Linked DNA regions of Homo sapiens: all the other regions are linked to region 1. The links are contacts of gene promoters, found by promoter capture Hi-C in blood cells and fetal thymus (Javierre and others, 2016). All regions are on one chromosome and are shown on one strand. Each heading gives the region's core, a stretch centred on a gene start or on the middle of the fragment in contact. The rest is flanking DNA. Distances are from core to core; before and after follow the strand shown.

The links. The method cuts DNA at HindIII sites, captures the fragments that hold promoters and counts their contacts. A CHiCAGO score of 5 or more calls a contact.
Region 2: a fragment that was not itself captured here is called in contact with the fragment with the promoter of ITPRID2 in region 1 in 4 of 17 cell types (naive CD8 T cells, total CD8 T cells, naive CD4 T cells and 1 more); the score reaches 7.1 in naive CD8 T cells.
Region 3: a fragment that was not itself captured here is called in contact with the fragment with the promoter of ITPRID2 in region 1 in 4 of 17 cell types (non-activated CD4 T cells, activated CD4 T cells, total CD4 T cells and 1 more); the score reaches 6.8 in non-activated CD4 T cells.
Region 4: a fragment that was not itself captured here is called in contact with the fragment with the promoter of ITPRID2 in region 1 in 2 of 17 cell types (total B cells and total CD4 T cells); the score reaches 6.6 in total B cells.
Region 5: a fragment that was not itself captured here is called in contact with the fragment with the promoter of ITPRID2 in region 1 in 1 of 17 cell types (total B cells); the score reaches 7.4 in total B cells.
Region 6: a fragment that was not itself captured here is called in contact with the fragment with the promoter of ITPRID2 in region 1 in 1 of 17 cell types (naive CD4 T cells); the score reaches 5.0 in naive CD4 T cells.
Region 7: a fragment that was not itself captured here is called in contact with the fragment with the promoter of ITPRID2 in region 1 in 10 of 17 cell types (naive CD4 T cells, total CD8 T cells, total CD4 T cells and 7 more); the score reaches 9.5 in naive CD4 T cells.

Annotation. Positions count from the first base shown.
Region 1 is chr2:181,889,618-181,893,195 of GRCh38, forward strand. It overlaps ITPRID2 (ITPR interacting domain containing 2), which reads left to right and starts at 2,113. Exons shown (of 18, transcript NM_001130445.3): 1 at 2,113-2,660; 2 at 2,998-3,043. The coding sequence starts at 2,450. RefSeq lists silencers at 1,990-2,319, 2,610-2,749. The HindIII fragment of the contact is 2,528 bases long and covers 1,733-3,578 here.
Region 2 is chr2:181,045,546-181,048,857 of GRCh38, forward strand. The region is part of intron 3 of UBE2E3 (ubiquitin conjugating enzyme E2 E3); the gene reads left to right. Among named protein-coding and RNA genes, the nearest start is that of UBE2E3-DT, 66 kb to the left of the region's middle. The HindIII fragment of the contact is 2,231 bases long and covers 629-2,859 here.
Region 3 is chr2:181,087,516-181,091,000 of GRCh38, forward strand. No RefSeq gene overlaps it. Among named protein-coding and RNA genes, the nearest start is that of LINC01934, 35 kb to the right of the region's middle. The HindIII fragment of the contact is 984 bases long and covers 1,023-2,006 here.
Region 4 is chr2:181,027,593-181,031,055 of GRCh38, forward strand. The region is part of intron 3 of UBE2E3 (ubiquitin conjugating enzyme E2 E3); the gene reads left to right. Among named protein-coding and RNA genes, the nearest start is that of UBE2E3-DT, 48 kb to the left of the region's middle. The HindIII fragment of the contact is 3,673 bases long and covers 166-3,463 here.
Region 5 is chr2:181,184,646-181,188,282 of GRCh38, forward strand. The region is part of intron 1 of LINC01934 (long intergenic non-protein coding RNA 1934); the gene reads left to right. Among named protein-coding and RNA genes, the nearest start is that of LINC01934, 63 kb to the left of the region's middle. The HindIII fragment of the contact is 1,934 bases long and covers 955-2,888 here.
Region 6 is chr2:181,108,027-181,111,567 of GRCh38, forward strand. No RefSeq gene overlaps it. Among named protein-coding and RNA genes, the nearest start is that of LINC01934, 14 kb to the right of the region's middle. The HindIII fragment of the contact is 1,196 bases long and covers 892-2,087 here.
Region 7 is chr2:181,068,592-181,072,216 of GRCh38, forward strand. No RefSeq gene overlaps it. Among named protein-coding and RNA genes, the nearest start is that of LINC01934, 53 kb to the right of the region's middle. The HindIII fragment of the contact is 267 bases long and covers 1,669-1,935 here.

The DNA.
Region 1 (3,578 bases), core at 863-3,362:
TTTGATTTTTTTTTAAACTATGGTTAATTATTGCCTTTCACAAGAATTCTTTGTTGTTGTCATCTGAAAGTGTATTTAAACAACTGCAAACCTAAATAAAATATAAGCATTATAGAAATAACATGAAGCAAATTTTAAAATAATCAATTTAGGTGTCTCTTTGAAGAACACAGAAAACAGAAACTACCTCAAGAAGACCCATTATCCCTTGTGGGATCAGCATTTAAAAGTGTAAGGGGTGCAAGAATACTGAAGAATGTTCTATCATCTCTCACAATTTACAATCTGGCTAGTAAGCCAAACATACCTTCCAGGGCCAGTCATATTATTTACTCTACAATCCAGTCCCCAAATAAATGACATAGACATGCTGTTGTATATCAGATCCCTGTGGGAGGGGTGTGATCAGGAGTGGTGGAATGGTGGAGTCAAAAAGTTCTGGCTTAGCTAGATTTTGAAAGTCATGAAGGTAGTGGACAGAAAGAACAGGAATGAATTAATTAGCAAAGACAGAGTAGGCAACAGCACTTAGATATGATAGAATTGAAGCTGGGAGCAGCAGAGGAACAGGGTGGATACGTAAGAACCCTGGATAAAACTTTGAAGGCAGCATATTTTGTGGCACTTGACCAGCCCTTTCAATGCTTCTTCTTAGGTACCTTCTTTATTCATTCTCTTTTTCATCTTCCACACAGGCAGCGAGACTCTGACCTATTTTGGAGAGCCATTAAACTGTTAGCTGCATCCTACTACAGGACCCTTGAAGGCTGAGAAAGTCTTATAGGTTCAAAGAAAAGATTTTCTAGTAGTGAAATTTCAAGCCATAGAGATATTAATATCACTGTTCTAACTCCCCTGACATTTGGCAGTACATAGATGAGACTCAGGAGAATATTATGATGGTTCTGGAAAGCTAGTCTGGATTTTGGATTTGATCTTGGGGATATTAGTAAACCATTAGAAGATGTCTTGGAATTGTAAATCTAGAGCAATGCGCTAGAAAGGAGATAGGAAAGAATGAAGGCAGGAAAATCAGTGTGCTATTTTAGTAGTCTATGACTTATGTGTAAATGCCTGGACAAAAACTAGGCACTATTTCATCTCCAGAGCATTCTTCATTCCAAATTCTCCAAAAGTTATGGTTTCCTGTAGCTATCAATGACAATGCACTTAATTACCTTGTAATTCGAATGCTTCCATTAGGAATTTTACTATGCTCTGGATTTTAATTTCAAATGAAAAATAATTCCTTCCTTAAAATATTTTGTCTACGCAAAATATTCTTTTCAATCACGTTAAGATTTTAAAAAGTGTTCTAACTTGTTCTTCAGAGCATAGCCAAGTACAATAAAATATTGGAAGCCTTACTTATATGTATAGTTCAGATGTAACATTTAGGGGAACAATGCTGCTTGATAGGTCTGTCACATTGTGTCTGGTTTTGGATAGAATTTGAGTATTTTTGCTAATGAGAATTTAAACATAACAAAACGGAATGCCAAAGCTGGCTTTAAAAAGTTTTGAACCCTGACATCATTTGTTTCTTGTATCATGCTGTCTCACCAAAATCCAAGCAACTATCTCCACATTGTCCCAATTGTTTCCTCTATTCTCCCTCACCAAAGTCCAACTTCAATGTGAAATTTCCAGATTAAATATCCTTTCACAATTCATTTTCATTCATAACATAAACACGATAAATAACTTTAAGTATGAAAGTAGCACTCCAGGAAGCTTAGTCTTTTGCAGTTTTTACATTTTGGCAACACCAATCAAGCACCTCTTTCCGTCCTTACCCCAATTCCTTGGACACTAAAGAGTCTATATTCAGGCGACTCTTTCAAGTGTATGTTTCAGGGTGCCCAAGCAGACACTTGTTTTCTCGCGGGGGATGTTTTGTGAGACTTGGCCTCCCCACTTACGTTCTATTTTTAGGTGAGGGAGGAGGAGGAGGAGAGGAGGAAAGATTATTAACAAACTAATCTTGCCCATTCCGCGGGCAGTAGTCGGGGGCTGGCCTGCTCCGCGTCGCGCCGGGCGCGCCCCGCCCTACCGCGCCCCGCGCGGCCCCGGCCGGAAGGGGGCGTGGGCCGCCGCCGAGGGAAGGCGCGCAGACGCGCAGCGGCCGGCCTGCTCCGGGCGCGTCAGGCAGGGGGTGGGGAGCAGGGGCCGGGCGGGCGCTCGGCTCCCAGCCGCGCTCCCTCGGGCCACTAGCGCTCCCGCGCGCGCCCGGCCGCCTTCATGTGAAGCGCCGGCCCTCCGCCCCTTCCCTCCCCTTCCTTCCCTCCCTCCCTCCCTGTCCCCTCCTCCTCCTCCTCCTCCTCCGGCGCCCGCTTCAGCTCCCCGGGGCCCCCTGCCCGGCCGGGCGCTGACAGCAAGGGCGGGGGTCCCTGCCGCCGCCTTGTCTCGCGCAGGGTCCGGCTGGGGTAGCGGAGCCCCCAGTGCGGCCATGGACCGGCCCCTGTCGTCGTCGGCGGAGGCGGAGGAGGAACTGGAGTGGCAAGTGGCGAGTCGCAGGAGGAAGGCCTGGGCCAAGTGCCGCAGCTCCTGGCAAGCGTCGGAGACGGAGGATCTGTCCACAGAAGCGACGACGCAGGACGAGGAGGAGGACGAGGAGGAGGACCTCCCCGGCGCGCAGCTGCCGGCAGCGGGGGGAAGAGGTCGGTGCTCCCGGCCGGGCTCCGGGGGGAGGCTGGTGGGCTGGGGAGAGTCTCGTGCGCCCTGGGCGCCTGCCACGAGTTCTGGGAGAGCCTCGGGCACGGTAGGCCGAGGGGAGAGGGGACACTTCCGACCTTCAAACGCGCGCGCTGAACGAGGCGCCCCCAGCGTCAACACAGACAACTGGGTGCCATCCGATTTCCCTGCCAAGGGACACTGAGACGTGTCGCTTAGGCTGCATTTGCCGTGGTAGATTTTCCTACTTGGGAGGGTCCAGGGTGACTCCGCCGTCGTAGTGCTCCTGGGTGGTAACGTGCTGTCCCCTCTCTCTACCCCCAGGAAACGTGCCCAACGAGAAGATCGCGATATGGCTCAAGGACTGCCGGTGAGTGCTCCCTGGTCCGCCCGCGTCCCGGGGGAGATCCGTGCGGACGGGACGCCGGAGCAGAGCCACTCGGGCCGCGTCCCTGTGGGTCCCGCGACCGTTGTAAGCTACAAACCGGAAAGTGAGCCGGCGGATAGCTTCCTCCTCTAAGCGATTAGAAATGGAAGTGCTGTGACCGCTGATTATTTGGTGACCGTGTTGACTTTACAGTTAGGACTTGAGCTACTCACGCATCGTGTTAGCATCAGAGATCAGAAATCCAGAACAGATAATCATGCCATATTTGTTCTGTTTTTATTTGAAAGAATTCTCACATCTCGAACAGGATATTTTGTTTTGCTTTAGTTTTGGCATCTGTACAACTGGCACGGAATCATTTTCCTTTCAAATGTGTTTTAGACGAGTTTAATTTACCTAACTACACTAAATGGGCTTTAATTTTGTTTCTGTTTGGGGAGCTATTAAAACTAGCTAACTTTGTACTTATAGTTTACTTCTTGAACATGGAATTGTCAGATGGCACTGGAATTCTCAG
Region 2 (3,312 bases), core at 494-2,993, 840 kb before region 1:
TGGCTGAGCATTTTATCACCTGATGAGTTTTTAAAGCTCTGTAAGCTCAGACCAAGCCCCAGACTAATACATCAGAATCTCTAGGGGTGGGACCTGGTATTGGGTAAGTTTTTAAACTCCACAGGTGATTACATTTGGCAGCCAAGGTTGGGACCCATGGTTTCAGATGTAGTAACCACATCAATTAACTTAGTACCTCTTAAGAAGGTTGCTTATTAGAATAACCTGGGAGATTTTCTCCACACTGTTCCCTCCCTTCCACTTCCCTTATTAATTTAGTGAGCCAGTGTTAACTGATGGGAATATACACATACCCTTGGATATGTTGGGACAGAAAAAAAAAAGACAACAATCAATTTGTTAAGTACTATTTTTCCTACACTCTTTTTGGAATATAGTCTGCTTATATAAGTGACTTTGTATCTATCCAGCATTATTTTATGTGGATAATTTTGTGTTGTTCAGTATTTGCATAATCACTGTGAGGGCAAGGACCTTGTATGTTCTTCTGTTCATCACTGTATTTTCAGTACCCACTAGTGCCTGGCACATGGTAGATAATCAGTAAATGTTAGAAGAGTGAATCAGTAACACTGAGTACCCCACATAAGTGCCAGCTATAGTATGAAGCTTTGTAATTACATTGTCCACCAAGGAAAAAGATCTTCCATAAAGCCACAGATAAGCAGGAAATAGATTTATTGAATTTTGAGTCTTTCGCAGGTCAGGGATTCCGTGTAGGCATTAAGGTTCTGAACAAAAATGTAGCACAAAACACAAATACTTGCTAGCAGAAGATACATTTCCATACCTGCCCTCGTATATCAAACTGCAAAACATACAGAAAAAAACTAATGGACAAACAGGTGCTGTTAGAGTCTGTGTTTAGTTTAAGCCTCATGATAAACTGGGCTAGAGCTTGACACATTTATCAACTGTTAGTTGTATTTTACCTAATCATAGCCTGTCTTAAAGGCAGAAAATGAAAACAAGATGATCTGTCACATATGGTTAAGTTGTAATTCAGATTTACAATATATTGGCGAAATGGCTTCAGTTTTGGATGAGCCCTTAAACTGTACAGTGTGCAAAGAATGGGGGAGGGAAGAGACCTAAGAAGGGTTAAGTAATCTTAGCCAAGATTTCTAAAAGCTCTTATTAATCTGATTTTTCAGAATTAGAAAATCTCTGTTGTCAGAGTTCTCCAGTTTGGGGTTTGATAAGAAAGCATATCATAGAAATTACTCTGCCTACCTAAAATCCTTTATGGTTTAGATTTTATTCTGTAGTGCCTTTACAGCACTCTTAGTGCTTCAGCCATAGCCCCAGTTTTGACTTATTGGGCCCCTGTCCCTCTTATTTTTCAAATTAAAAATTACACAGAAAACTATTCAGAGTAGAAAGAGTATAAGTGAAAACTAGGTTTCCTTTTCACTACAGAGCACCACATCCTTTTTAGAGGTAACCAGTATTAGCATTTCCTTCTGTATTTTTACAGAAAGAGTTAGTTCATATTGCCAGCATACACATGCAGGTAGTTTTTGTAGTTTATTGGCATGATCACCACATGACTAGATGACGTCTTTAGTTTCTAACACACTTTTCAAACCCAGCTTCTTTCCATATCTCTTCATGTAATTAATCTCTCCTCTGCTTTGTTTCCATTTGCTTTTTTGTCCCTCTGTTAAACACCTGTTAGAGGTCTGACATGTATTATTGGGACTTAGGTGTGGTGGTCTCATCTCAGGTATCATCTCGCCTTCTTACTCTGTACTCTTTACCTAGCCTGGCTCATCCCACCTGCAGGACATTAAGGACCTGTGTATCAAGGTCTCACAAATTTATATCTATAGGACCAGGCCCCTTTATCTTACTTGTCTGTCTCTTTGACATACTTATCTTTTGGATATCTCATAAACTTCTTAGTCCCAGTGTATCCAAAACCAACTTTTTTTTCAACATCCATATCTTAGTTAATGGCATATACATTATCTCAGTCATAGCAGTCTGAAAACTATAAGCTATTCTCGAAACCCTCCTTTTCCTCACTTGTCCTATTTCAAAACGTAAGTCTGGTTGATTTTTGTTTTGTTTTGTTTTTTTCCTCCTAAATAACTCTCAAGTCCCTCTTCTTTGTCTCTGGTACCATATTAGTCTAGCCTATCATCATCTTTCACCCAGATTACTGCAGTGGTCCACCCACAGCCCCTCCGGGCCTCCTCCAGACCATTTTCCACAGAGCAGCCTGAGGAGGCCTTGCAAAATGTCCATATTAGTTTAACACTCCCCCTTTGTTGCTTAAAATCTTTTGATAGCTGCCTATTTCTTTTAATATAAAGACAAGTCTCCTTCATGTAGTCTTACAAGGTCCTGCCTAGACGTTTGTTACAGCTTCCCTCATTAGGTCGTTTCATTGTACTTCCCATGTTCTCTTCCCTTCTGCCACATTGTGCTTCCAGGCCCTGCTACTTGTTCCTGATGGCCTCAGGGCATTTTCCTATGCTTTGAAGTCCTCTTTCCCAGCCCTTTCCTTTCAGCTTCTACTGATAAACCCCCACTGGGGTATTTGAAATAATCTTTTAAATATTGCTTCCTCTGACTCTTCCCTTATCTCTCTAACATTTCCCCGGCATTCAACAAGGAATACCTTGCCTTTGTAGCGTTTTCTGTTTTATGTTTTTTTGTGAGTTTATTTGATTAAGATCTATATCCTCAGCTTGGCTGAAATCTCCATTGTATATTTAGTTTCTTGTACAGATTCCTAGCCCCAAATCGTAGACACTCAATAACTCCTTAATGAATGAATGAATTTGTTTTCTTTATTGAATCTAACAAGTACTGTATTTTGTATATTGTTAAAGCTTAAATACTTTTTTTGATTCAAAGTAAATTCATAGGTTCACAAGGCACAGTATGGATTAATAAGCAATACCATTTCCTGGTTGGTTGTTATAGAGATTACATAAGAATTCACACATTTACCAAAACGAGGTCATTCTTGGGAAGAGGAGTAGGAAGATAAAATCATGGGAACCACTAGCACATACCTAGGTCTGCCCTTTTAGTTAGTAGAATTATTTTTCTACGTTATTTCCCCAGCCACTCCTCTCACCCTAATTGTCTGTATTATAGCTTTCCCTAATTGTGAACTCCTAATTGCTTTCAACCTAAATAAATATGATTCTTTCTAAAACACTCAGGAATAACAACTGTTCACTTATAAACAGTTTTTGAAGTTTGGAAAGCAATATAGAGGTTTGGCTTTACTTTAGAAAAATATTACAGAAGCTACCTGTGTTCTCCGCCTACTTC
Region 3 (3,485 bases), core at 265-2,764, 800 kb before region 1:
GTGGACAGGTTGAAACAACTGGTCAAGATGTGGATTGTGGCCATGTGGCCATATAGTGCTTTTCAACAGCAGAGTTATTTCTCCCAGAGTAATAGACAAGAACAGGTCCATAGAAATAGTTTCTCTACAGCCATCTGTTGTTCATTTTTCTTCTCCACATCCTGAGATGGGGCACACAAAAAAGAAAGTCATCATTTTTATTCGGTAACAACCACTGCATTTTATTTGGTAACAGCCACTATAGCATACCTGCTATAGTGACAGCCTCCTAAAAGGATGCCTCTTGCTGGTTAAACATTTATGTGCTTTGTGTGAGAGGGGCATTTCATATGCCATAAAACACTGGTGTTCCATTTTCATAGCTTTATTCTTTTTTTAAATTTCTGTACTTGTAATTTTCAGTGATTTTTAATGGAGTTAGCCAAAAAAATAATGTTTCTCCCAAGTAGTGCACTATTATAGTGCTGTTTAGTGGTACTCCAATACAATACTCAACCAATGAAATAAAGCAAAAATATGTCCCATACAGAGCACAGCACGCCATGGTCACTCTGATTTCTTAAGTGATGTGAAACAAAAAGTAACCAAGAAAAAGAAGACAAAGTGTTTGTGGAGACAGCTTTATGGCTCCAAAATTACATTTTTACATTTATAGAAACAGCAACAGAATAATTTGATTCATTCCCTGTGTGTAAAGGGATGCAATGTTGATTGAAAACCGTCAGTCAAAAGTACGTTGTGCCTAGGAAACTATACATAGTGCTAATCGGGAGTCTTTGTAAAGAGATAATTCACTGAGCATTTGATAAATAAGCACAATGGGTATGCTCTACACACTAGTAGAGCCTGAGTCTTATCTGCCCCAAATTAAATGTTTTGTAGCCCATGCTTATGGTGAAGATCCATTTTCAAGCATTAGCCAAAGCATTGTGCCACAAAATTATTAAAAACTCAAAGAAATGAAAATTAACCAGATTTTATTATTATATATAATTCTGCATAAAACAGCCAAAAAGTGGAAAAGCTTAGGCAACTTCCTTGTCATTTTTCTCTATAACATTAAGCAATGAAACTCAATGACGTTTTCAGTTACTTTTAGTAAATTTACAAGCGCCTTCCCTAAAATGTATACATGTGAAAAGATAGGGATAAGAAATCAAATTAGTGATATATATATACTAAAGACATTAGGGTGGCCAGGAGGTAGCTCTAAGCTGGAATAATCAAGAAGGCTTCCTGGAAGAAGGGGCCATTGAGCTGAACCTTTATAGGAATTGGGGAACAGAAGATGGGAGAAGATGGTAGTAATAACATGATATGAAAAAGTGCATTTGGTAGATTATGTGCTTAAATATAGTTGTAGGAAAATATGTGTGTTGAGAAGGAGTAAGAAATCAGATTGGATATCCTGGGAAAGATGTCAGAATAGGAACAGCTCTGGTCTGCAGCTCCCAGTGAGACCAATGCAGAAGGCGGATGATTTCTGCATTTCCAACTGAGGTACCAGGTTCATCTCATTGGGACTGGTTAGACAGTGGGTGCAGCCCACAGAGGGCAAGCAGAAGCAGGGTGGGGCGTCACCTCACCCAGGAAGCACAAGGGATCGGGAACTCCCTCCCCTAACCAAGGGAAGCCATGAGGGACTGTGTGTGAGGAACAGTGCATTCTGGCCCAGATACTATGCTTTTCCCACATCTTCACAACACACAGACCAGGAGATTCCATCAGGTGCTTTCATCACCAGGGCCCTGGGTTTCAAGCACAAAACTGGGTGGCTGTTTGGGCAGACACCAAGCTAGCTGCAGGAATTTTTTTTTCATATCCCAGTGGCATCTGGAATGCCAGCAAGAGAGAACTGTTCACTCCCTTGGAAAGGGGGCTGAAGCCAGGGAGCCAAGTGGTCTTGCTCAGTGGATCCCACTCCCACGGAGGCCAGCAGGCTAAGATCCACTGGCTTAAAATTCTCACTGGCAGCACAGCAGTCTGAAGTAGACCTGGGACGTTCAAGCTTGGTGGAGGGAGGGACATCTGCCATTAGTGAGGCTTGAGTAGGTGGTTTTCCCCTCACAGTGTAAACAAAGCTCCCTGGAAGTTTGGACTTGGAGCCCACCACAATGCCACAAAGCCACTGTAGCCAGGCTGCCTCTCTAGATTCCTCCTCTCTGGGCAGGGCATCTCTGAAAGAAAGGCAGCAGCCCCAGTCAGGGGCTTATAGATAAAATTCCCATTTCCCTGGGACAGAGCACCTGGGGGAACGGGCGGCTGTGGGCACAGCTTCAGGAGACTTAAACATTCCTGCCTGCTGACTCTGAAGAGAGCAGCGGATCTCCCAGTACAGTGCTCTAGCTGTGGTAAGGGACAGACTGCCTCCTCAAGTGGGTCCCTGACCCCCGTGCCTCCTGACTGGGAGACATCTCCCAGCAGGGATCAACAGACACCTCATACAGGAGAGCTCTGGCTGGCATCTGCTGGGTGCCCCTCTGGGACGAAGCTTCCAGAGGAAGGAGCAGGCAGCAATCTTTGCTGTTCTGCAGCCTCTGCTGGTGATACCCAGGCAAACAGGGTCTGGAGTGGACCCCCAGCAAACTCCAGCAGACCTGCAGAAGAGGGGCCTGACTGTTAGAAGGAAAACTAACAAACAGAAAGCAATAGCATCAACATCAACAAAAAGGACGACAACACAAAAACTTCATCTGAAGGTCACCAACAGCAAAGACCAAAGGTAAATAAATCCAAGAAGATGAGGAAAAACCAGCGCAAAAAGGCTGAAAATTTCAAAAACCGGAATGACTCTTCTCTTCCAAAGGATCACAACTCCTCACCAGCGAGGGAACAAAACTGTATGGAGAATGGGTTTGATGAATTGACAGAAGTAGGCTTCAGAAGATGGGTAATAACAAACTCCTCCGAGCTAAAGGAGCATGTTTTAACCCAATGCAGGGAAGCTAAGAACCTTGATAAAAGGTTAGAGGAATTGCCAACTAGAATAACCAATTTAGAGAAGAACACAAATGACCCAATGGAGCTGAAAAACACAGCACAAGAACTTTGTGAAACATACACAAGTATGAATAGCCAAATCAAACAAGCAGAAGAAAGGATATCAGAGATTGAAGGCCAACTTAATGAAATAAAGTGTGAAGATAAGATTAGAGAAAAAAGAATGAAAAGGAATGAACAAAGCCTCCAACAAATATGGGACTATGTGAAAAGACCAAACCTACGTTTGATTGGTGTACCTGAAAGTGACGGGGATAATGGAACCAAGTTGGAAAACACACTTCAGGATATTATCCAGGAAAACTTCTTCAACCTAGCAAGACAGGCCAATATTCAAATTCAGGAAATACAGAGAATGCCACAAAGATACTCCTTGAGAAGAGCAACTCCAAGACACATAATTGTCAGATCACCAAGGTTGAAATGAAGGAAAAAAATGTTAAGGGCAGCCAGAGAGAAAGTTCTAGTTACCCACAAAGGGAAGC
Region 4 (3,463 bases), core at 752-3,251, 860 kb before region 1:
TTTTTAAATTTGAAGGTCCTTAATAAAACAGTATGTAATTGTGAGAAGCAAGAGTGCTGCAGCATGTTGTGTCTTTTAAATATCTTTGAGAGTAACAGAAAAGCCCAAATTCTCTCCTAGTGTCGTTTTTAAAATCAAGTATTGAAACTGAATATAGTTCAGCTAAGCTTTCTTTGCTGTCACTCTTAACATTGCCATAACTCTACTTTCCTAGTCATTTGATTGTACAGAAAAAAGTAAATTCTTTTACTATGTAAGTATACCCTTATCATCAATCATGTACTGCATAATGCATAGAAAAGAATACATGTAACATTTTTTGAAGCATAACAGTAACACAATACTGATGATTTCTCACCCAGCTTAAAAACTAGATGGTATCATTGAATCTCTATATGTTGTCTGTCCCTATTCAGTCACTCTATTTCCCTTCACCCAGATGTGATCATTATTCTAAGATGTTTTCATTCATTTCCTTACTTCTTATAAAAATAATGGTTTCTGAATGTATTACTAAACGGCATATATTGTTTAATTTTGAGCACTATACATTACATAATGTAATTACCTATTAATGTAATTATTATAATGTAATTATACTTTTTTCTCTTAAATCTTGTTTTAAGATTTATTTGAGTCTTGGCATGTAGCTATAGTTAAATTTCATGCTGTATACGATTTTATTACGTGGATATACTTGTATTCATTGTAGTAGGGTATATTGGGTGTTCCATGTTTATTTTGTTTTTTGTCACTATGAACAATCGTACTGTGAAGATTACTGAACATGTGTTCTAGTAATATGTGAGTAAATTCTTTCATTGTATATCTAAGAGTGGAATAGGTGAGTCTCACAGAGAACGTGCATATTCAACCATGCAAGATAATGCCAAATTGGTGATACACTGATACACATTTCCACCAGCAAAGTGCAATAGTTCTCTTTGCGCTGCAGGTTTATCAACTCTGACAATCTTCAGACTTCTTGATTTTTCCTAATCTATGGGTATAAAAATAGTATTTCATCATGGTTTTAATTTGCATTTCCTAATAATGAGGTTGAACAATTTTTTTATGTTTATCTTCCATTCTCATTTCTGTGAAATGCCTTTTTTTTGTTATTTGTCCCCCTGCCCCCAATTTTGTTTTATTAGGGGTTCTTATGTATTGTGGATACAGATGCCTTTTGTACATATATGTTGCAAAAATCTTCTCTCTGTTAATGACTTGGTTCTTTTATGGTATATTAGTGAAAAGAACTGAATTTAAATGGTAGTTAAATTTATCAGTCTCTTATATGATTAGCACTTTTTGTGTCATGGTTAAGAAATTACTTTCTGTCCCAAGGTCTCGAGGATATCTTTATTTTTTTTTCAAAGGCTTGCCCTTAGTGTTCCAAATTTATTTGGAATTGATTCTTTGAAAAGGGTAAGGTAGTAGTCCAATTTCATTTTTCTCCATATGGATAACTATTTGTTTTAGTAACTTTATTGAATAGTCCAGTGGCTAGAGTGCCATCTGTCATTTCATGATTCTTTTTTTGCCTAGTTCTGTGTTGGGCTCTTCCATTCTATTCATCAAGTTGTCTATCTCTGCACAAATAGTACATGATATAGTTTTAATTACTATAATTCTAATGAGTCTTGATATCTAGTAGGACAAGTATCTGTATTTTCATTAGGAGCTGCCTGACGCATTCATATAAAATGAGAATCAGCTTATCAAATTCCTTGGAAAAGTATTCTTGTGGTTTTAATTAGAATTTTATTGAATTTGAGAAATTAGAAGTAGAATTCTTAAAAATGTTGAATTTTCTTTTTCATAAACATACTGTATCACCCTCATTTATTTAGGATTTCTTTAATTCTGATTTTGCTTTGTAATTTTCTGTATTCAAGTATTGTACATCTTTTGCTAAATTTATTTCTAGGAGTTTAATATTTTTGATGCTTTTGTAAGTTTTATCTAAAAACTTGTTTTTTATCTAGCAACCTTGTATAAATGTTCTTTTTAATTCTAATAATTTGCTTATACATTACATTCTTTGATTTTTATCTGTAGACAATCTTTTTTTTTTTTTTTTTTTTAAGTTCTGTTTCTTACTTTACTGTCTAGGACAACCAAGTCATAATTGAGCTTCTTTTCTTGTTCCATGTTTTAAATGGAGCGGTATAAACTTGTCATCTTTAATATTGATGTTTGGCGTGGGTGTTTGAAAAGGTATTCTTTATCAATTAATTCGGTCCCTTTTTTTTTTTTTTTTGAGACGGAGTCTCTCTCTGTCGCCAGGTGGGGGTGCAGTGGTGCAGTCTCGGCTCATTGCAACCTCTGCCTCCAGGGTTCAAGTGATTCCCCTTCCTCAGCCTCCCGAGCTGGGACTACAGGCGCCCGCCACCATGCCTGGCTAATTTTTGTATTTTTAGTAGAGACCAGGTTTCATCATGTTGGCCAGGATTTTCTTGATTCCTTGACCTCATGATCCACCTGCTTCGGCCTCCCAAAGTGCTGCGATTACAGGTGTGAGCCACCACACCTGGCTCCTCTATTTTTCCATGAAAGTATTTTGGTTGTCTTTGGTGGTGGTGGTGGTGGCCTTATGTAAACTCTTCATTGGGCATTAAATTTTAATGAATACTTTATCTACTAAAGTAATAATCATATGGTTTTGCTTTAATCTATTAATATGATAAATTGAATATGTATATTTTTCTTTTGTATTTATTTATTTATTTATTTTTTGAGACGGAGTCTTGCTCTGTCGCCCAGGCTGGAGTGCAGTGGCACGATCTCATCTCAGAATGTGTATATTTTTCTAATGTCAGACTAACTTTGCATTTCCAATTTGGCAATATATATTATCTTTTTTCAATATGAACAGTCTTGGATATGATTTGTTACTAAGAGTCTTACATGTGTGTTCATGATTTGAGATTGGCTTCTTTTTTTCTTACACCTAATTAGCCTGTTTTTAATACTGGCCTCAGAGAAAAAAAATTATTTTTTTATTTTTTATTTTTGATTCTCAGAAGCGTTTTAAGAGTGGAATGATCTCACTTGAAATTTGATAGAAGTCTCCTGTAAAACTATGTGGACCTGGTGGTTTTGTATTTGGGATAAGGTGGGGAAAAGGTGGAAATTAACTACAAGTCCCATCTCTATATTGTATAACCAGTATTCACTTAGTCTGTTCTTTTTAGTAGGTTGAATTTTTCTAGGAATTAGAGCATTTATTTTTTTCATGTCTGTTATTTCTGTCTTCTCTCTGTCTTGTCACAAGGTTTCTATGTTTTATTAGTCTTGACCCAAAAATTTAAAAAAAATTTTAGTTTTTATTGACACTATTTTGTGTTTGTGTTGTGTTTCACTAGTTTATACTATTACGTTTGTTACCTTTTCTATTTACTTGAGCTAATTTTGCTGTTCTTTTTGTAATTTTTTAGATTGGGTTCTTAATTTTTAGCTT
Region 5 (3,637 bases), core at 672-3,171, 710 kb before region 1:
GCTTTGACGGAATGAGTTCATCCTCTCTTGCCTTTTCCATGATGTGAGGATGCAGTAAGAACGTCTTATGTGCAGCTGTGTTTGGGAATCACTGTTCTAGAACATTTCCAGTGGTCTGTCAATGTATAAATTATGTGGCTCATTCCTGTGCCTTTCCAAAATAGAAGGCATCTATCTACTCCTGATGACCAGTTCTGAACTAAAAAAATTCAAATGCATTTTTGATATTATAGCTTACTTTCTATTATGCGATAATTGTGCTCCAAAACACAACAAAAACTGTAAAAAGATTTTTCCTAGAGTCTCGTAACCAATAGCTGTCTGCAGAATGCAGTCTTGTTAACACATGAGTTGTATTAAATATAAATTGTTTTTGAATTGCATATAATTAGATGTTTATAGGTAAAATGTATTATGTATGTACATACTGGATGGGGAAATATCTAAATATCTTTATTTTATCATATCCTAGATTAGTGTTTTAGGCAGAGTATCTTTTCCCACTATTCCTTGTAAGTAGAAGCTAAGCATAGGTTAACATCTCTTCCATGTCCTAACTAAAACCTTATTTTATTCTTAAAGCCTCACATAGAGTTTAGCAAGAAAACTTGATTCTCCCCTTTCTTTGAACTCACCCAGTTCAGTTCATACTACGTTTTAAGGGACTTGAATCTCCTGCTTCTCCCTATTACCCTAGTTCAGACCAGCATCCCTTACCCAGATTACAGCAATAGTTTTCTAACTGGTTTCCCTGCACTCTAACTTGTTCCCTTTTAATCCATTCTTCACACAGCCACTAGAGTGATCTTCGTAGTATGTGTTCATTTCACTTCTGGATCATGCAGAGATTCCCATAGCCCTGGGATGAAATCTAAACTACTTAACCTGCTTTAGGAGTTTCTTTATGTTTTAACCACTGCCTCTTCGGGTGAACTCTTGTCAGCCCACCATTTAAGCTTCATTCTTAGGACTTCCCGTTTCTGAGAAGCACCAAGCCCTGAGAGTTCTTCCACGAAGTTCGGCTTCCTCTTTCACGGGGATACTTTGATTTGGGAATGTGTTTGTGGATTCTTAAAGTCCAGATTGCTGAAAGTATTGTAGCACATGGTGCTTCTTTCTCAAAACACACACCATTCTGTAATCATTTCTCCATTCACTTGCTTGCATGAGGACAGAGGCCTTGCCATGTTTGCCCGACATTACTCCTTAGCATCTGACACAGTTCATGGCACGCAGAGAATAAAGAAAAATATTTATTGCATAAGCAAGGGAATGACATATATAGGTCTTTGCTCCTTTTCCTACTCTTTATACCTAATTCCAAGCTCCTCCTGAACTAGAAAACTCTCTGGCTGAAATCTGATCAGTCATGAAGCATGTGTACGGGAGCAACCATGTGAGCAAACAGATGCACATATGGGCCTCGGCTGAATTTGATATTACCAATTTGGAGATCATAATTAAATGCCAAATCTATTGTCATAGCCTGCTTAAAGTTCTCGGGGAGATCATTTCTGCTCTTTCATTTCTGGAATTAGTCAAGACCATACTATGTAGAGTGAATCATTAGCTACATATTTCTGAATGGTTTTGTAAGGTTGGTTCAAATTTATGGGTTTATGTTTCTATGTTCTCTACATTGGTACGTCTATGATATTTCATTGACATTTTACTGCATCTCTGAATTCTATATTCTTTGTTCAATTGACATGAATTTGATCACAACAGCAATTTTGAATTTCAAAGTTAAAATTATCAAGTGCAAAGCATAACACACCTAAAAGCCATGCTTTTCTACAATGTTTTAACCTAAATGTGGATAGTAATAATTAGAAAATTAATGAATTTCAAAAGATTTTTTGAGTCTTTTAAAAAAGTTATTTGTGCCTTACATTTTCTGACTCTATCTGAAAACAAATATTTACATTTATATTTTAAAATTGAACAGTAGACTTTATTCTCCTCTATCCGATTAGTACTTACTACTACAAACATGGAGCACATGGGACGTGCAGCAGCTAATATATCACAAAATAAGTGTGATTGGCAGGAAGAAAAAGCAAATAGGCTTTTTCAAGTTGTCTTTTTAAAATAAGTTTGTTATTTCTGCCATCTCATCAAGTTTCCCAGTTGCTTGGTGAATCTTTGAAGGGATCAGCAGTAGTGTTTATTGCCAACTAAGTAGGCCTCACCATAGTACATTTTGTAAAATGTAAAAAGAAATTCTGTGTAATTTTATCTTTTGACATATATTATAAAAAGAAGTAATGGCTTGTGGAGTGACTCACATAAGATACCAAATACAACACATAATGGAACATGAAAAGTCAGTAAAAAAGACAAATAACCTACTAACCTTCTTAAAGGGAGCTGCCATCTTTTCTGGACCCCCAATATCTGGAATTAGATTAATTATCATTCTTAGTCCAGGATACACTATCGTCATTTGACTAAGCATGGCCATCTTTTATTTGTTTTAATAATATAAAAATGTCCATGAGCCTCCAACCCCCACCCCCGACAAAGAACTGGAATTTATATTTATCTATACACTATTATTTATATGTATACACTATTTTGTATTTATCTATACACTATTTTCTAACCTCTTTCTCTCCCCTCAGAGATAAGCACTATCCCAAATTTTGTATATATTATTCTTTTTAAAGATAGTTTCATCACATACACATAAACAAAAATACATATACTTAAACAATACATTGTTTATGTCTGTTTGGTTTTGCTCCTTTTTGTTCAGCATTGTTATTGAGATTTATCCACATTGCTGTATCTGTAATTTTTGTTTTCAATTACTTTACAATATACAATGAATATATACCACAATTTATTTATCCATTTTCCTGTCAATAGACGTTTGGAATTTTTGAAGCTTTTGTTATTCTTGGCTGTGATGTAGGAACTCTCTTATGCATGTCTCTGTGCACACATGCAACTGTTTCTCTGTGTTTATACCTTGGAAGGCCATGGTACAAAATATTAAACTCTACAAGATTTACAACTCCAGAAATTATTTTTGACAAACTGATTTATCTTTACTCTCTAACACTTGGTATTGTCAGACTTCTTAATTTTTGCCAAATACTTTGAAAAATGATATTGTGATCTGATATTCATTTTCAAGGTTTTTTCATAAGATTGATCAGCTTTATCTGTTTATTTGTCAAATATATTCATTTTGATTAAAATATTATATCTTTTTCCCAGTTTTCCATTGCGTTTTAATTTTTTTTTTTTTTTACTGATCAAAATGACTTTTTCTATATACTTGATACTAATCCCTTCAGTATATCTATTGGAACTATCTTCTATTTTGTAGCCTGTCATCTTCTTTACAATGTCTTTTAATTTTAATATGCCCAAATTTATCAATATCTTTATGAATTAAACTACAAGCAAAGATGTGCACACACATATGAAAAGATAGTATTGGGCATATATAGACATGTAATACATGTGTATATGTATATATATTTTCACTATATGATTATTTTCATTATTCCAAATCTCATGATTCCAAAATCAAGTTATTTGTAGAATGGAGGATACCAAAGCATGTATACAGACTAATTACAGGTTGTTTTCAGAATTGAGAATTGTTAAAAGAAAGAAAAATTTC
Region 6 (3,541 bases), core at 240-2,739, 780 kb before region 1:
CCTATCTCAGAGTCAACACCTTAGTTACTTTTCTGACAAATAAAATATAGTCATAACATAATCTCTCTTATTGCTCCTACTGATAAATTATTTGCATCTGGCTTACTTGTAATTTGGTGGCAAAATCAATGTTTGGTGAAATGATTCTGAAAACTTCAGGGGCACTATAGTTTTCATTTATTTACATGATATGCTATTTTTAAAGAACCAGTCATTGCCAGAATTCTACGTTAGTTCATCTTCTGAGAATATAATGGGAAAAAAAAGAAAGAAAGAAGTTCATATCTAATGTACATGGAGTTTTCTTCTCCAGTCTGATAATTCACTCAAGTAACATGCCTCAGATTTCACTTCCAGGCCCACCCTTGCTCGTCTCTGCTCAATACCAGAAACTAGAGTTGTGTGTCATCCAAGTTTTTCTAATTTTTTATTTTTTCAGCAGGTATCACTGTGTGCCCACCATGTGCATGAATAAAGTCCCTATTTCTGGGTGGCTACAGCCCAGTTGTGAAGATAACACATAGATGTGAAATATTGAATGAATAATACCACAAGTCAGTATACATTTAAATATGCCAAAGGCAGAAATTGTTGAGGAAATTCACTTCTGAAAACTCTTAACATAGTCTGTAAAGCTTAATATTCGCCAGTTGTTCAATTTCCATTGTTATTTACAAAAATGAAGCTTTGAATTAAGGAAAAAAAAAGCACCATCTGCCTACCCATGCAATAATGCTTGGTTTTATTCCCAAGCATATCAACCACTGGCTTGGCATTTTAACTAACTGAAGTAATTTTCTCGTTAGAGTGTGTCTGTGTCTACAAAATGCATTTTTCCTGGTTACTCATTTTAGTATTTCTGCTCTCTAGCTCTGCCTATGCTGGACTTGAAGCTTTCTGTCTGTAAGTACAGCCACCTTGTTAAATGATTCATACCTTCTAGGTACCTCAAGTGCAGACTATACCTGATGCCCCTTCTTTTCCAGTTACTTATTCAATCAATCCCATCAATCCTTTTATTAATTGATTGTTTAGTCAATATTTATATTGAGTGCCTATTTTCTGTGGGCACAAACGGCACATACCGGCCTTTAAAGATACAGAGAAATGTAGAGCATACCTGCCCTCAACTACATTTCAAAGAAAAAGTGCATATAAAAATATTCTGTCTGGGCTGGATGTGGTGGCTGATGCCTGTAATCCCAGCACTGTGGGAGGCTGAGGTAGGTGAATCACTTGAGCTCAGGAATTAGAGACTAGCCTGGCCAACATGGCAAAACCCTGTCTCTACTAAAAATACAAAAATTAGCCGGGTGTGGTGGCACACACCTATAACCTCAGCCACTCTGATGGCTGAGACATGGAGAATCTCTTGAACCGGGGAAGGGGAGGTTACTATGAGCAGAGATTATGCCACTGCACTCCAGTCTGGGTGACAGAGCGAGACTCTGTCTCAAAAAAAGAAAAAACAATCTGTCTTAAGTAGAATTTTCTAAGTGTCAGAGAGAATGTTACACATTTATTCATTCAGTCCATCAATTTATTTAGCAAACATTTATATTTATTGAGCATTGTGATATGTCAAGCATTCTGACTCACTGGAGATACAAAGATGAATAAATCATATATGGTGCCTGCCTGCCTTATATGAATTTAGAGTAAGTTGATACCATGGTAGGCTAGAACTTTGTTCCTCCACGTTTGTCTGAGAACCAGGAGCATTGGCATCACCTAAGAGCTTCAGAAATAAATAATTTTAGGCTCCATCCAGATATACTGAATCAAAGTCTGCATTTTATTGAAGTGCCCAAGTGATCCAAAGTGAAGTTTGAAAATCACTGGGCTAGAAGGATTATGGAATGCTTTTGTGGAGGAGCTGAAATAAGTAGATATCATCAAGTTTTATTAAAAGAGGAAGGAAGACTTGTTAAAAAGGATTGGATAACATCTGAAATCTAATTTAGGATATGGGGTTTTCAGAGCTGGTTGGGAATGATTATTCAAACAATGATGGGAAATGACCCAATAGTTGGTTGATGATCCACAGGGAGAGGAGTGGTGATAATGTATGATAATATGGCACTCAAAGCTTAGAGAAAGATGAGTGGTCTAGATTCTAGACTCTAGAAGTAGCAATGGGATACTGATGGTGATGCAGTGGCTAAAGGCAAGATTTTCTCATCCCAAGCATGTAGAGGTAAACACTCATATTCTCACAGGTGATATTTAAATTAACTTTTAGGATTTATATTTTTTGAATCCTAAAATTACAGTGAAAGTCAATAAGTAGATACAAATCCAGCTAGTAAAATGTTTTTATATATGCCAGTTTTTTTCAAAATACATTTAATTTATTGGACCTTAAATATGAGAAAAAAAGGAGGTAATCTTAATGGAGAAAGGCTGTTTACATTTTTATCTACAGAGTTATGTCTTCATAATCAAGAGAAGTCCCAGACAAGATTGTGAGAAAATGAAGTTTATCTGTAGTGGCTTTATGTACTTCAATCATCTTTCTGTTATCTTCCTCTCAGTTTTTGTAATCCAACACAAGGAAATGAAGACACCATGTGGTCGGAAGTCAATAAGAGTAATATTGAGGGAATGGTGACCTCCTCAAATGCATTGGTTTTTGTTTTTGCTTGAGACAGAATTTTGCTCTGTCATCCAGGCTGGAGTGCATTGGCGTGATCAAAGCGCACTGCAGCTTCCCATGCTTAAGCTATCCTCCCATATTAACCTCTCAACTAGCTGGGGCTACTGATGCGCACCACCATGCCTGGCTAATTTTTTAAGATTTTTGTAGAGATGAATTCTCACTATGGTTGCCAGGCTGGTCTCAAATTCCTGAGCTTAGGTGATACTCCCACCTTGGCCTCCCAAAATGCTGGGATTACAGGTGTAAGCCACCACACCTGGCAAATGCATCATTTTGAATCACAGGATCTCAACTGGCTTCTGTCCTCCTGTGAAGTCAAGTCCTCCACACAGGGATACTTCCCCTCACAGGTTTGAAAGAATTTAAGGCGCCAGTGCTGTGTAACCTTATGACAATCATAGACAAGGTACCTTTGCTCATTGGGCCCTTAAGACTGCCTCCGCAGATGATTTCATTTCTGAGATGCTTTAAAAGTGACATCCATATCTCCTGTTTTTTTTTTTGACATCTGTTAGTGTGGCTTTAACATATTCAGTGTGCTTTAAACACATGACTTATCTGCACACAAACCTGAGCTGACAGGGAGAAGCCTGCAGCTCTCCAATAAATGACAGACTTAATCAGTGAGACATAGAGCCTAGAGCAGTGTCTTGGATAAAGTCTACCTTACAAAACTCAGAGACGATCAGAATACTTTCATTGCTAATGTTTCAGATGTTCTGCACAATGATAAATTATTTTTTTTCTGAATAGAGTGCTTTGAAATAACTTGAATGGTAAATCTAGAATTATATATTCTTAGCCAATAATACTTCCTAAGTATAGAAAGCTGGAGAAGTAAATGGGGCTACACAGAGGTTTGGAAAAAAGAGTTTGCTAGCT
Region 7 (3,625 bases), core at 552-3,051, 820 kb before region 1:
AAGTTAGCTTAGCAAACTCAGATATGTTGGCTGCTCCCACCTTAGTCCAAGAGAAGGAAAAGGTAAATCTGTGAAGGAATGGGTTGCCGAGAGGTGTGTGGTACTAAGTCCTGACAGCTAGGGGCCCAGGTCTGTAAGGAAAGTCAGGGATTCTCTAGTGATTGAGATTGGGGTAGTTAGGTCTTCATATGAGCATTTCAAGTTTTCATCTACAAAGTGATGAAGAAGAGTATTAATTTATGAGATAAAGAGTATGAGGGGATAACACTGTAGGGCTTTCACTGGCACCCCTTACCTGATTCCTTTATCATCGTTTGAAGAGCACTTTTTAGCCCTCTGCTAAACTCTTGCTGTGGTCACAGAACTCTCAAATGGTGAAGATCATTTTAAATATGCATGAGACACCATGTTTTTTCTTCCATGGTTATTTTTTTTTAAGGACATATATAATGTTTTACTTGTGTATGTATATCATCTCAATTATGAGCCCCTAGAAATAAGGGATCCAATTTATTTCATTCAGTAAGTTATTAGTTGTGTACACTGGAATATTGGTTTGGGTGCTTAGGATTAGCAGTGAATAAAATACACGAAAATTCCTACCCTTATGGAGTTTACTTTCAATTGCTAGGAGACAGACCAAAAAAATTTAAAAGTGTATATATATATGTGTGTGTGTGTGTGTGCGTACGCACACATTCTCACACACATATATGTATGTTAGATGGTAAGTGTTATGGAGAAAAACAAAGTAGGGAAGGGAAATAGTGTGTGCAGTGAGGGAGAAAGAAAGGGGAGGTTGAATTACAGTTATAACAAGGGTAGTCGGGGAAGACCTCACCTAAAAAATGAGTCAAGAGCTGAAGATGGTGAGGAATAAGCCACATAGGAAAAGAGTCCTACAGGCGGAGGGAATACCAACTGAAAAAATCTTGTAACAAGAGCATGCCCAATGCATTCAAAAGGTAGCAAGTGCTTAGGAGGGCTGGAGCAGGTGAGCAACTAGGAGAGGAATAGGAGGCCAGGTCAAGAAGATGACAGGTGGGCAGATCACATAGGGTCTTGTATTTCATTTTAAGGAGTTTGGCTAGTATTCTAAATAAGATGGGACACCACTGGAAGCTGTTTTTAGCCAACGAGCAACAGGACATGATTTATTAGAATCTGATCAGTCAGAGAAAAACTTGCTGTGGGGCTAAGGAATTGGGAGCAGGGGGACCAGTTAGGAGGCTAATGCAGTAATCCAGGTGAGAGATACCAGTGACTTCAACCTGGGTGGTGGCAGTGTAAGTAGTAAGAAAAGGTCAGGTTCTGGTTAAAAATAGAGCTAAGAAGATTTGCTGATAGATTGAATATGTGGTGTGAAAAAGGAGTTAGAGTTTAGGGCCTGAGCAAACTAGTAGGCTGTAGTTGTCATTAACCAAGGTGAAAAACTCGAGGGTGAAGCAGGATAGGGAGAAAGATTATGAGCTTAGTTTTTGACAGGTTAAGTTTGAAATGCCTATTAAACATCCAAATGGAAGTGCAAGATTGGATATACAAATTTGGAATTCAAGAGTTCTGGGCCAGGGATGTATATTTGTGACACGTGAGTGTGTAGTTGGTATTTATAGCTGTGAGACCTATGATCACTCACTCAAGGGAATGAGTGCTGCTAGAGAAGAAAGAAGCTTAGGCACTCCCAGCATTAGGAGGCTGAGGAGAGATGAGTCAGCAAAGTAATCCAGGAAGGAACGCTCAAGAAGTGAAAGGAAAATCAGGAGAGTGTGATAACCTGAAAGGGAAGTAAAAAGTTTCAAGGAGGTGGGAATGATCTACCCCATGAGAGACTACTGATAAGCCAAATAAAATAAGGACCTAAATAGCCATTAGCAACTCAGGAGTCCTAGACACTGGTGACTTTTATATGCAATTTTGTTGGAGCAATGAAATTAAAGCTTGATTGAATAAAGTAACAAGGAATAGAGAACTTGGAGACTCCTGACAATTTTGCAGTGAAATAGAGAAGTAGGGAGTAGTTGGAGTTTCTTTAAGATGGGAGAAATTACAGCATGTTTGTATATTGATAGGAAAGATTAGAGAGGAGGAAGTGGATGGTGTAGGGGAGGAGGAGCAGTGTCCTTGAAAAAGTTATCTGCTACATAATTTATTCAGGGTGTTTTCAAAGTTCTGCACTACCTTGGACATCTGTCTTTCTCCCTGACTAGAGCAGAAGCTCTTTGGGAAGTGCAGCATCCAGCACTTACAGCAGCATTGTCATTCACCAAATTCTTGAGTTCCCCTAGATAAGCAAGAGGGGATAGGATCTAGTACAAGTGAGGTGTTTGGCCCTTGTTGTGAATTTGCAGAGGACATGGGCATAGGTGAGATTGGAGGGTAGATGTGGTTCGTAGGAAGTTCTTTGGTAGCTTCTACTCCTCCATGAAACGAGATGTTATTGGCTGAAAGTGAGAATGGGGAGACGACAGTTCATACATCTGTGTGACCCATTAATGTCCAGCAGAGTAACTAGTCGTTTGTGGTCAAGTGTAAAAATGAATGATTGAGTTGTCTATCTGGATGAGCCTTTCGTTTATTTCATAGTTAACATGTTAATGAACATGCAATTAAAACATCCATATCAGCTCGAATGGCTCCTCTTTTTCATCAGGTATGGTTTAGCAGTTGTTTGAATCTTTAGCACCTTAATTTTTGTTTCATTCAAGTGATTTTCCTGAAGTCATTGAAGAATCTACCTTGACACCAATTTTAACTAGAGAAATTCAATTATTTGCTGAAAGTTAATACTGCTTTAAATGCTGGACACAAAAATAGTTACGCTGTGTTTCCCAAAGAGGTCATCATGGTCTAGTCAGGAAGAGGGGTGTCCAAGGTGAGTTACACAGAGCTTTGGAAAAGCCTCAGTGGATGGTGTGGCAGATGACGTCCCTGAGTTTGCTAGAGGAAAAATGACTCTAGAAAACTGAGTATTCTTCCCTGTTCTATTTTATGGATGTGGTGGTCAGAGAAGGACATAGTGACCAATTTCTGTGACCCTCACTTCCACCATTGGTCCCGTGGCAAGACTCAGTTACAAGCCTTCTCTCCCTTTGGATTGTACCTCACTCAGGAAGTACGGAATTTGAAGATCAGATTTCATTTCCAGAAAATCCATAAGGCAGTCACAGCTTATGACCAAGGCTCACACCTTTTTTTCTGCTTACCTTTCCCTGCTATTGTCCTGACTTCTTGCCTCCCAAGATTGATATGTAAGAAGTGGGGCCATTTTTTTGCTTTTCTCTGAAAAACTAGTCAGCAAAGAGGTTGGAATTTTAATTGGTTTAACTACTTAACTTAGAAAGCCAAGAGTTAAATACTTAGAAGTGAAACTTTTTTTCTTTTCCTGATTGGGTCTTTCTGAACAATATTTTTGCTGTGATTATTGCACATTTAAGCCCAACTGTACTTTTTATCTGAAAAAAAAATAGGATATGACTCTTAACTGTCGTAAGCAGATTACAATAATATTCTTTAGAACACGGGTGTCTAATCTTTTGGCATCCCTGGGCCACATTGGAAGAATTGTCTTGGGCCACACATTAAGTACACTAACACTATAACGGTAGCTGATGAGCTAAAGAAATGG